2 separate regions of the Homo sapiens genome follow, and region 2 is linked to region 1. The links are contacts of gene promoters, found by promoter capture Hi-C in human tissues and cell types (Jung and others, 2019). All regions are on one chromosome and are shown on one strand. Each heading gives the region's core, a stretch centred on a gene start or on the middle of the fragment in contact. The rest is flanking DNA. Distances are from core to core; before and after follow the strand shown.

The links. Contacts are between HindIII fragments. The study calls those that stand out against the background at their distance.
Region 2: a contact is called between a fragment that was not itself captured here and the fragment with the promoter of CSRNP3 in region 1, in 1 of the 25 tissues and cell types used here (pancreas).

Annotation. Positions count from the first base shown.
Region 1 is chr2:165,466,347-165,472,070 of GRCh38, reverse strand. CSRNP3 (cysteine and serine rich nuclear protein 3) reads right to left here and starts at 2,373. Exons shown (of 7, transcript NM_001172173.2): 1 at 2,331-2,373. The HindIII fragment of the contact is 6,911 bases long and covers 806-5,724 here.
Region 2 is chr2:165,424,449-165,430,172 of GRCh38, reverse strand. No RefSeq gene overlaps it. Among named protein-coding and RNA genes, the nearest start is that of CSRNP3, 42 kb to the left of the region's middle. RefSeq lists an enhancer at 2,744-3,679. The HindIII fragment of the contact is 5,022 bases long and covers 538-5,559 here.

The sequences.
Region 1 (5,724 bases), core at 1,124-3,623:
AGAGTGTTGTGAAAAGGGGACAAAGCTGTATATAGTGAGCTCCATTAAAAACCTACATTTAAATCTTAAAAATGTTTGTACCAAAGGAAAAAAAAATGGTGATGCCTTCCCATTTCTCACTGAAAGCCTTACATGGTTTTCATTTGCCTTGTTTCATCCTTCACTTGGACAGTAACCTCTTAACTGTTTTCTTTCATGCTTTTTTTTTCTCTCTTGTCTCCACTCCAGCACACATTCTCTCTCTCTCTCTATCTCTTCCTGTGGACTCTGCAGTAAAAGCTACCCCAGTTGTCTCATTTTTATAAGACTTGCAGACGTCTGCCAGTGGCTGATAGGAAATGCTGATTGAGAAAGGGTTTATCTACTTTTCATCCAAAATATGTGAACCATTAAGGAAATTATAAAAAGCAGCAACAATATACTCTGGTTTTATTCAGTCCTCTCCCTTAGTGATTATTAAAAGGGTGATATTTTTAGCCAAAGAAAGCAAAATGCATCTGCAGCAGCTGGTTTCCAAGGAAACAGAATAATTTAAAACCATGTGGAACTCTGCTCTCTAATTTTCATCAATTCCCCTTCATTCCTGGAGGTAGCTTTACTCAGAATTTATAATTTCTAAAAAATATAGCTGCATTGATTTATTTCCTCTAATACATTTTAGGAGATGAATATCTGGTCTTATATATCACCTTGAATTTCAATCTTGGGGTGAGGGGTGGATTAATTTCAACCATTGTTTTGCTTAAAAAAACAAAATCGGAAAGATCCATCAATAATTAGAAACATGCCAAAATTTCAGTATTATGTAATAATTTTTGAAATCCAGAAACAGTTCAAAATCAACCATACCAGAATATTTACTTGGTTCATTATGACACTTAACCATATAAACATGTTATTAACTATATTTAGTACTTTTAGGAAATTTAAGGTAATTCTCAATTCATTTAGATAATCCATACTAATATTCAGCAATTTTCTCACTCATTTTAATTTTCCAAGAACTATTATATTTGTGTCTGTTTATTCAAAGACAAAATCTCTCAAACAAAAAAAGTACAATAAATAAAAAAATTTGAAAAACAATAAACAAAAAGAAAAACAATAGCAAAAAATATTTAGAAATTATATAGTCATTCCTATTAGTTTTGATTCATTCAAAAAGGTATTAAAATATGTAGGAACAAATTATTTACCTCATTGAAAGACTTTTATTTTATTATTATAATCAACAGGTATTAATCGATGGCCAGTGTACTGAAGTCAGTCATAATTCTTGAAAGTTCAATTTTAATGAGGTTCTACCACCGTTAAATGACCTGTATTTATGAATTAAAGTAAAGAATTAAGTGACTGGGAGTTCAGTTTTTTTGTATGTTTTTACTGCAAGTGTGTTATTTATTCTACATACTTAGAACTTGTCCCTTTTTTCCCTAAGGCAATATAAAGGACCATATTAGGAGATACAAGCACCTAGTAAAGTTGCTAAAAAAAAATTGCCTAGAGATATTATCAACAATATAAATGCTCTGATGGAATTCTTATCTAGATGTGTTTGACTGATAAATTAAACTACCCATGAAACATGACTGTTAAGATGCTATTTTTTACAGCAATGTTTAATCTTTCAAAATTAGGTTTCTGTGCTTTAAAATAAAAATGGCTCCATGTAAGTTAACAAGTAGAGACAAACCATTGTTTAATTATCACATAAGCTTAAAGTTTGCTGAATAAAATAATGCAAATATTGAACAACATGAGATTTATCAAGAGGAGTAAGTTAAATAACAGGGCTTAAATGCACACAAATCATTCATTCTAAATTAATGCTAAAAGAGTCTACAACCTGCAAAAATAGTTTTCCTAAGCCTTTTACTGTATTGTCAATATTAAAAGCCATCACATGAAATTTTATATTGTATATTCACAGAAGGCTCCATTTTCTCAGGACCTGTGGAATTTACCGAGGTTTTCTCATCCTTCCTGCGATTCCTAGTAACAAGCTTGAATTAAACATTTTTGAAGAGACACATGATGATTCATTTTATCTATTAATTTTGCTTCAGTGACACTTGCATAGAAAGTTATTTAGGATAAGACATGCCTCTGGTGATTGTTTTGTTTTGTTTTTAATCAGCTAAGGATTTTGCAGAGAGAAAGAACAGCAAGCTCATTGCAAAGCTTCCTCAAGTAATAAAAGGGACACACTTTCAGAAAATGTCCTCAGAATAATTTTCCTACTATAAAATTGTTTCCGTAAAAATTAAGAAGCATTCTCTTTTAAAGAAAAAAAGAATTCTCTTTTCTTTTTTTTTATTTTTCGCTCTTACCTGTAAATATGGTTTCTGTACTTCGGCTCCGTCAGAACACACTGAAGAGAGTACACTCCTCCCTCGTCTATCCATCAGGCGGCAGCCAACCAATAACAAAAGCCAGATCCTGGCATTCTCTAGCTCATGCTCCCTGCTTTGCTTCCATTTCTTGTTCCCTCCCACCTCCACTCTTTTAGAGGACGAATCCCTGCAGCTGGGAGAGAGGAAGCGAGTGGAGAAAAGAAATATGGAGAGAAAAGCAGAGATGCAAGATATTTCAAAAAATAGCTCCCAACTATGGAAAATGTCTGCAGATGACCTCAGCTGAAGTAAAAAGTCTTGCTTTGGATTTAGAAAAATAAAGTTAATCAATGCCTCACCTACCTGAAATCAAAGCAAAATGCTCATAGTAAAACCTAGGTAAATTGCCTGTTTTTTAGTTCCCACTGATTTTTCTCAGTGAAAAAAGTGTACCTCCTCATTATACATTTTGATATGCAGACAGAGGAGGGAGACTGAACATCAAGATGACATTTTGCATATTCAGTTTGCAAAGAGATAGAATTAAAATGAATCAACACCCTTTATACTTATGTTTTATATTATTTGCACTACAACCTCTGTTTGACAATGTTTTCATTCAAACGCAGTTTCGAGGCCTAATCAGTATGAAAAATATTTCATTCTGAGCATTAGAATATTCAAATATTTCACAGTTATGTGGTTTGCATTACTTCAGATTCCTTAAATGCCATCAATTTGTGAATAATGGAACTTATTAAAGATTAAAAAGAGATCAGTCACTTGGTTGCCATGCCTCAAAGTGACCAGCTGAACTCCAATTTTATTCTAATAAACTTAAACAAAAATCATTTCACTTCTGAACCTAGAGGCATAACATGCATTAAAGGACAGTTAAAGAAAACACCAAATTAGGATTTTTTAAGGCAATAAAGCAAATTCATCCAGTTTCAAACAGTTTAATTTTTAAAATACTGTAATACAAACCAGGGATCTTTATGATAAAAATTCTCTCAATTGAGCTTCCTCTAGTGGAGGTGGTCTGAAAAATTTCCTTAGAAAGACATATACAGTAGATATCACCACTATAGAGGTATGTACTGGCTACTTGAGGTATTTATAAGCCTTGCTCTTCAATTTCTTAAATCAGTAATGTGTCCTCATGGGAATAAGGCCAAAGGGAGTAAAATTAGAGGGAAGGGCAAGCAAGCATTCTTTAAGAGTTACTGGCATGGTGGCAAATCATTAGTCCAGGAATATCTGTACAGGAAGGGCTTGGGGTGTCAATATTGTTAGGAAAGGAATGGCTGGTGACTTAAACTGATACTAACTTTAGATAGGAGTGCACTGATTTTGCTTAGTTTGCACTGTTATTTAGAGTAGCTTTGGGAGGCTCTGCTAAAGATTATGGGGAAGACTAAACTATCGCTTATTCCCACCGCCAAGTCCTCTGTTGTGAAAAATGCTTTCAAAGCCTTTGTGGTCCTATTGCTAGGAATAACTGGAGGAATCCCTAGGACAGACAGCATTTTTAGAAATAGTTGTTCGGGGCCATCTTCATCAGAACCACTAGGGGAAGATTCATTAAAAATGCAGGTTCATGGGCCTCCTCCAGATTTAATGAATAAGCATTTGAGGAGTTTCTGACTCAGCATTTTTAGCAAGCTCTCCCAGGTGATTTATATGTCAAGTGTGATTGTAGACAGAGACTTGTAGGCAAGTATTTGCAGGGCACAAATTCTAACCAGATTTCTTCTGTTTAGATGATGATGCCATTGTCTCAGAAAAAAAAAAAAAAGAGAGATTTAGAGATTTGGGAACAAAATAACAAAATTAATTTGAACGTTTTGAACTTTTTGGATATCCAGATTAAAATATTAAATAGTCAGTTAAACTCATAAATAAGGCTGGGATGTAGGTTCAATTTGGAACCCCCAGCATCTAGGGTTCGGTTAAAGTAATGAAAATAAATGAGCACCCTAAGGGTTTAATATAAAAATTTTATAAAGAACTCATAAAACTTAACAGTGGAAAAACAAACCCAATACAAAATGGACAAAAGGCCCAAATAGACATTTCTCCAAAGAAGACATAAAAATGGACAACAGGTTTATGAAAATATGCTCAGCATCACCAATCCTCAGGGCAATGTAAATCAAAATTACTAAGAAATACCACCTCATATTTATTAGGACGGCTGTTATCAAAATGTCTGCAGATAAATGTTGGAGAGAGTGTAGAGAAAAGAGTACTCTTGTACACTGTTGGTGGGAATGTCAACTGCTACAGCATTATGAAAAACAGTATGGATGATTGTAAAAAAATTAAAAATAGAACTACCATATGATCTAGCAATCTCTCTTCTGGGCATATACTCAGAAGTGGAATCACAACTTTGTAAAGATATCTGTATTACCATGTTCATTGCAGCATTATTCACAATAGCCAACATATGGAAACAACTTAAGCATTCATTGATGGACAAGGGGATAAAAATGTGGTACAAATACACAATGGAATATTATTCAGTCCTAAAAAATAGATCTTGCTTTTTGCCACTATGTAGATGAGCCTGGAGGACATTATGCTATGTGCTATAATCCAGACACAGAAATATTGCCTGGTCTCACTTATATGCAGAATCTTTGTAAAAAAAAAAATCAAATATATAGAGATAGAGAACAAAACAGTGATTACCAGAGGCAGGGACTGGGGGTATGGGAAGATGTAGGTCAGAGGATACAAAGAAGCATATATATATATATATATATGTATGTGTGTGTGTATATGTGTGTATATATATATATATATGATGAACAAGTCTAGAGATCTAATGTACAACATGAGGACTACAGGTAATGAAATTGTACTATGGGTTTCATGTAAAATAAGTAGATGTTAGCTACTCTTACCACAAAAACAACAAAAAAGTATAGCTATATGAAATGATGGATATGTTAGTTTGCTTCACTATAGCAAACTTTTACTAATTAAATATATATAAATATTGTGTTTAAGATAATATGAGGTTATGACATACATCGTGTTTAATTAAGACAATATGAGGTTACGTATGCCATATTTATATACATTTATTTTTTAAAAAAGAAAAACATCTTTAGCAGAATTAAAAATGCTGACTAAGAGACTCCACCCCATACCTACTGAATCAGAACCTTTGGAATGAAGCTTAGGGAGCTCCATTTTGATAACATTTTTCAGCTGACTTCCTTTGTACACTAAAGTTTGAGAATCATCACTCTAGGAAGAGGAGAAATAAGTTGAGAATGAAACTCAGGGAATTTACTTACCTTTAAAGAACAAGCAGAAAGCAGAATGAAGAAAAGATGCTTAGGAGGAACAGTTAGCGAGGAGGGAAGCCAGGAGAGAA
Region 2 (5,724 bases), core at 1,799-4,298, 43 kb after region 1:
AATAATGCCGCAATAAACATACGTGTGCATGTGTCTTTATAGCAGCATGATTTATAGTCCTTTGGGTATATACCCAGTAATGGGATGGCTGGGTCAAATGGTATTTCTAGTTCTAGATCCCTGAGGAATCGCCACACTGACTTCCACAATGGTTGAACTAGTTTAGAGTCCCACCAACAGTGTAAAAGTGTTCCTATTTCTCCACATCCTCTTAAAAACAAGCAATGGGGAAAGGATTCCCTATTTAATAAATGGTGCTGGGAAAACTGGCTAGCCATATGTAGAAAGCTGAAACTGGATCCCTTCCTTACACCTTATACAAAAATCAATTCAAGATGGATTAAAGACTTAAATGTTAGACCTAAAAGCATAAAAACCCTAGAAGAAAACCTAGGCATTACCATTCAGGACATAGGCATGGGCAAGGACTTCATGTCTAAAACACCAAAAGCAATGGCAACAAAAGCCAAAATTGACAAATGGGATCTAATTAAACTAAAGAGCTTCTGCACAGCAAAAGAAACTACCATCAGAGTGAACAGGCAACCTACAAAACGGGAGAAAATTTTCGCAACCTACTTATCTGAAAAAGGGCTAATATCCAGAATCCACAATGAACTCAAACAAATTTACAAGAAAAAAACAAACAACCCCATCAAAAAGTGGGCGAAGGACATGAACAGACACTTCCCAAAAGAAGACATTTATGCAGCCAAAAAACACATGAAAAAATGCTCATCATCAGTGGCCATCAGAGAAATGCAAATCAAAACCACAATGAGATACCATCTCACACCAGTTAGAATGGCAATCATTAAGAAGTCAGGAGACCCTGCTTCTAAAAAAAATCTTAACCCTTGAGTACATATTTTTTAAATGTTCTCTGTGATTAAATGGAAAGTATGAATAAACCACTTCTGCTTCATACCAAAGTATGATAGTTGTCTCAAGGAAAAGCACATGTGTGATTGAGTCAGGAGCTAAACAAGCTGTCTTTTTTTTTTTCCCATGAAAAGCCATTTTTACTTGAAAGAATGACTGGCAGACTGGTGTTTTAGATTTGGGTATTTGGCAGGCAGTTTCTTGGATATGAAGGAAGTGAGTCTGTCATTTCAAAGAAAACTCAGGGTTTGTTGCCAAAGATAAAATCTGAGCTTTCAAGCAAAAAATTAGAATTTTGGAAATTTGTTTCTGCCACCGTTTACTTGAGGGCTTCCCAACACTTAAAGTTTTTTCTGAGAACAATGGTAACATTAACAACTGTGATTTTGATATTGTCTAATAAAATGTGTCAACATCAAGGACATTCATTTAACTCAATGAATGAATATTTTCTAAATGACGAAGCATGATGTTACAAAACAATGCATTGTAAAATATGTGTTCAAAGTGCAAGAGAGACGAAAAGATTTTAATGTAGCAGAGTGCAAAGATTTCATTGATATAATTTCAAATTTCACATTGCAGCTAACCTTTAAAAAAAACTACCCTTGTCAATTTTTGTAATAGTAATAAAATAATATTCACAATAATCTACAAAGGTTATTAACATATTTCTCACTTTTTCAACTACATATCAATGTGAGATAATTTTTATTAATATAATTCAACTAGAACAACATATTTCAACACTTTAAATCCAGAAACTGGTATGAGAATCCAACTGTCTTCTATTAAGGCTGACATTAAAGAGATTTGCAAAAATAAAAACCAATGCCATTTTTCTCACTTGTTTTGAAAAACAGCGACTTTTTTTTTTTTACACACAGAAAATTATTTATACCAACACATATTCAGTTCATTGTTGTTATTTTAAATAGATTTTAAAATAAATATTTTACAATTATCTCAGTTTTAATTTCTGATACAGTAAATATAGTCCATGTAAACAAAGGCTCTTTGGGATTTTCCAGAAGTTTAAGATTGTCTTGGAAACAAAATTTGGGAACTGCTGTATTAGAATACATCTATTAGATCAGGGAGCTCATGCGGGGATGCCAGGTTTGTAAGTCTGGGAAGTTTTCATTGCAGGAAGGGAAATGTGATTGTCATGGAAGTGTCATGGGATCCTTGGGGTGTCATTTTTCCAGCTAGAAACCTCTGTGGCTGGTGGCATCTTTGCCCAAGTTTTGCTCAGGCCTGCTGGGCTCTTTCAGCCCACTTGGCCTGACAGGCTATGCTCAGCTCATGCTACCGGCCTGGATCCCACACCTGCCAAGGGTGAGACAGGCACAGAGAGCAGCGAGGGGTGTGTGGGCATGTGTGGGGTCCAGCCACTGTACACGAGCAGGCATTTGCTGGCTGCAGTGTGGTAGGCAGCTCCAGGTGCTGCCACAGGTGCCAGCACCATGCGAGGCTGTGGATGGACCAGGTGTACCACAAACAGCTTCCACTGTGGGTACTGGGGAACATGGTGGCTCCCAGAAGCTTGCAGACACCAGGAATCACAGAGCCCCAAAGACAGTATCACAGCCCTGGCTCAGGGAGCTCCTAGGTCTGGGCTCGTTTAAGGGCTGCAGCTCTTTTCTCCTCATCATCAGCAATGTGGTGAGTGGGGGGCATGTTTCAGCTGTTTGCATTACAGGTCTTTCAGTCCCACCATCTGGCAGATCCTGGGTTGTCGTCCCACATCCAGGAAGAATGAGGTACATGGACAACTAGAGGGTAAGCAAGGTGGAGAGGGGTGTCACTGAGCAACGGAACAGCTCTCAGGAGACCTGAAATGGGTAGCTTCTTCCTGCAGCTGGTAGTCCTGATGTCTGTCTGAGTTTGGTTGAGTCTGGGTTTTTATGGGGTCAGAGGGAGTAAATGTGTGCTTACTGGTCCATGGGCAGCTATGGACAGGCCCAGAAAGAGCACTATAAGTTCTCACCCTAGGCCAAGGACTTAATCTGGAAATGGCAGCCCAGGCCCCAGGCTTCAAGCTGTTTCTGGCTTAAAGGTGGGGTTTCACCAGGGACCCACCCCTTTCTGCCCAGGAGCCCATCTGCCTTTTGCCATCAACATGCCATCTATGGCACTAGGCTGTTCATGCTGAGGGGTACCTGCAGGCATGCACTGAGCTGCCCTCACCATCCCCCACCTCCTTCCCAGGATCAGTGGCACCCAAAGTCCAGAGGGGGACAAGGCAGCAGGGGGCTGGCATGTCTGTGCTGCCCCAAGCATGTACACACCCAGCCAGGTCATGACAGTGCCCAGGTTCGACCACAACTTTGCTCTGCACTGAACCATGTGCCAGGAGATGGGTGAGGCCAGAGAGCAGAAGCAAGCACTTCTGAGCCTGCAGGAGTGGGGGTGGGGGTTTTCAGGCCCCCCGAAGGCACAGGGATGCCCGGGTCCAAAGCCACAGCTGGGTGGCTGCAGCTGCACCCAGTTCCTAGCCCCCAACAGCTCTGCGGAACATGCAGCCTTAGCCACGCCTCCCCTGCTGCAGCCAGCATCTTGGTAGTGGCCACTCCAGGCGGGCCTCAACTCCCATCAGAAGGTTGAGTAAAGTTTCTTTATTTCAATGGTTCTTAAATACAATATTTATCAGAATCACTTAGAGTGCTTAATAAAACAGATTTCCTGTCCCACCTCTGGAGTTTCTGATTTAGTAGGTCTGAGGTGGAACCAGATAAGTTTTACTTCTAACAGGTTTCTAGGAAATACTGATGCTATTGGTCCAGGGACCACACTTTGAGAACCACTGCTTTGTGTAAATAAGTGAAGGAAGGGCCATTTGAAAACAGAGACTTCAGTGACTGCTGGTGCCAATTAACCATAGTAGCCAAATTTCATAGATTGAGGGCACAAGATTGCCCTTACCTTATATAATAGCTGTAAATTCAGAGGTCCCCAGGACACTCGTACTCTGACCAGCTGGCTACAATTACTGGATTCCCCCGAACCCCTCAGGCTTAATTATTTACTAGAACAGCTCACACAACTCAGGAAAGTGCTATACTTATGATTATAGCTTTATTATAGTAAAAGGATACAAAAATATAATTAGCCAAAGGGAATGAGGCATAGAATGAGGTTTCGAAGGGTCTGAAAAGCAAAGCTTCCATTTTGTTCCCCATGGAGTCAGGATACCCTTCCAGCATATTGATGTATGACAGTGCATAGAGACTTGCTAACCAGGGGACTCACCTGAGGTTTGTCCAGAGTTTTTGTTGGAGTATCATCACATAGGCAAGATTGATTGAATCACTGTCCATGTGATTAAACCAAATCTCTGACCCCTTTATGCTCCCCAGATATTGAGCTAATATCAAAGTCCCAATCCTCTCATCACATGGTTGGTCTTTCTGGTGTTGCCAGTACCTGTCCCGAGTCATCTCATTAGTATAAAACATGTAGAGTCCACCATGAGTTACCTCACTAGTATAAACAAGGTCTACCATGAATACCATAAACACTCCTGTCACTCAGGAAATTCCAAGGATTTTGAGGCTACTTCTCATAAACTGGGGATGGAGACCAGCCAAATTCTTTATTATACTACAGAGATCAAACGCATAGGCACTGAAATATAGACACCTGAATATGCATGTTTTGCATGAATAAATACTTCTAGTCAGGAGTGGCTTGACTCCAAAGTATTTTGAAACATAAAATAAATAATAAGTCCAGAAAAGCAGTTTGGGAACATTTTATCGGAGATCTTTGAAAATAGCCTAAATATTTTATTCTTTTAATAACAGCAAATCTTTACCTATAACTGTATATATTTGTTACCATACTGCTTTAACCTGAATTCTATTTTAGTAAGATTATGGCAATTCAAAAGATGTCAGGAAGAAGAATGTGGTTTAACCATGTTTCTTAAAAATCTAACTTATATATTATTTGCAACTGGGCCAGTGAAAATTCTCTGAGACTAACAGCTTAACCAAAATAACAAGAGCTGCCCTCATGCTTCCATACAAGTCAGTATCTGACTTCTTAGTTCTGATTACCTATTTAGCTCCAACCCTGGATTCTACATCTGCTTTTGTCTCTGCTAGTCAGTTATCCATTTTGTTTTCTGACTCAATTTTTCTTTAGGATTTCAGCTTTACGGATCCTCCCTAAAATAGTTTTTTGCACCTCAACTATCAATGTTCATTCTGACCCTTCAGCTTGCGTATAGGTGACCTCTCACAATTCCATCATAACCAGCTGCCTAATTATATCCTCCTATTATCAAGTTGGCCATGAAGGACAAGAAATAACTAGTTCCATAATAATGCATTAATTTCTGCATTCTTGCATTTTTCTTATATGCCTGCTCTTTCACTCCCTTACAGCTCTCAGCTCTCAGTCACATAGTGTTATTTCTGCCCTGGCACACTGCTTGGCCATGGCATGATGCATTGTATACAATGAGCACACTAATTCTATCACAATATCTGCATACTAACTACTTCGGCTGAATTGACTATTATACTAATCTACTCTATTCCAAAAAACAGGGGTCTTTAGAATTGTGGTATACAATAAAGAAAACAGCATCTGGCCTGGCTTTGAGAGATTCTGTACATGACTTAATTGCTAGGTACTAAGTGATAAATATGAACAAACAAGCTCATAAAACTTATAGACTAATGGCTTAGAAGTTGCTTCATTATAAACAATATCAGTTAACTACTAAACACATTCATATTACACACATCTACTTAATTATAGTCTACTAATATACTACTATATTGTGTATATTATAAAGCATATATAAACTGGAAAATAAAAAGGATAAATTAA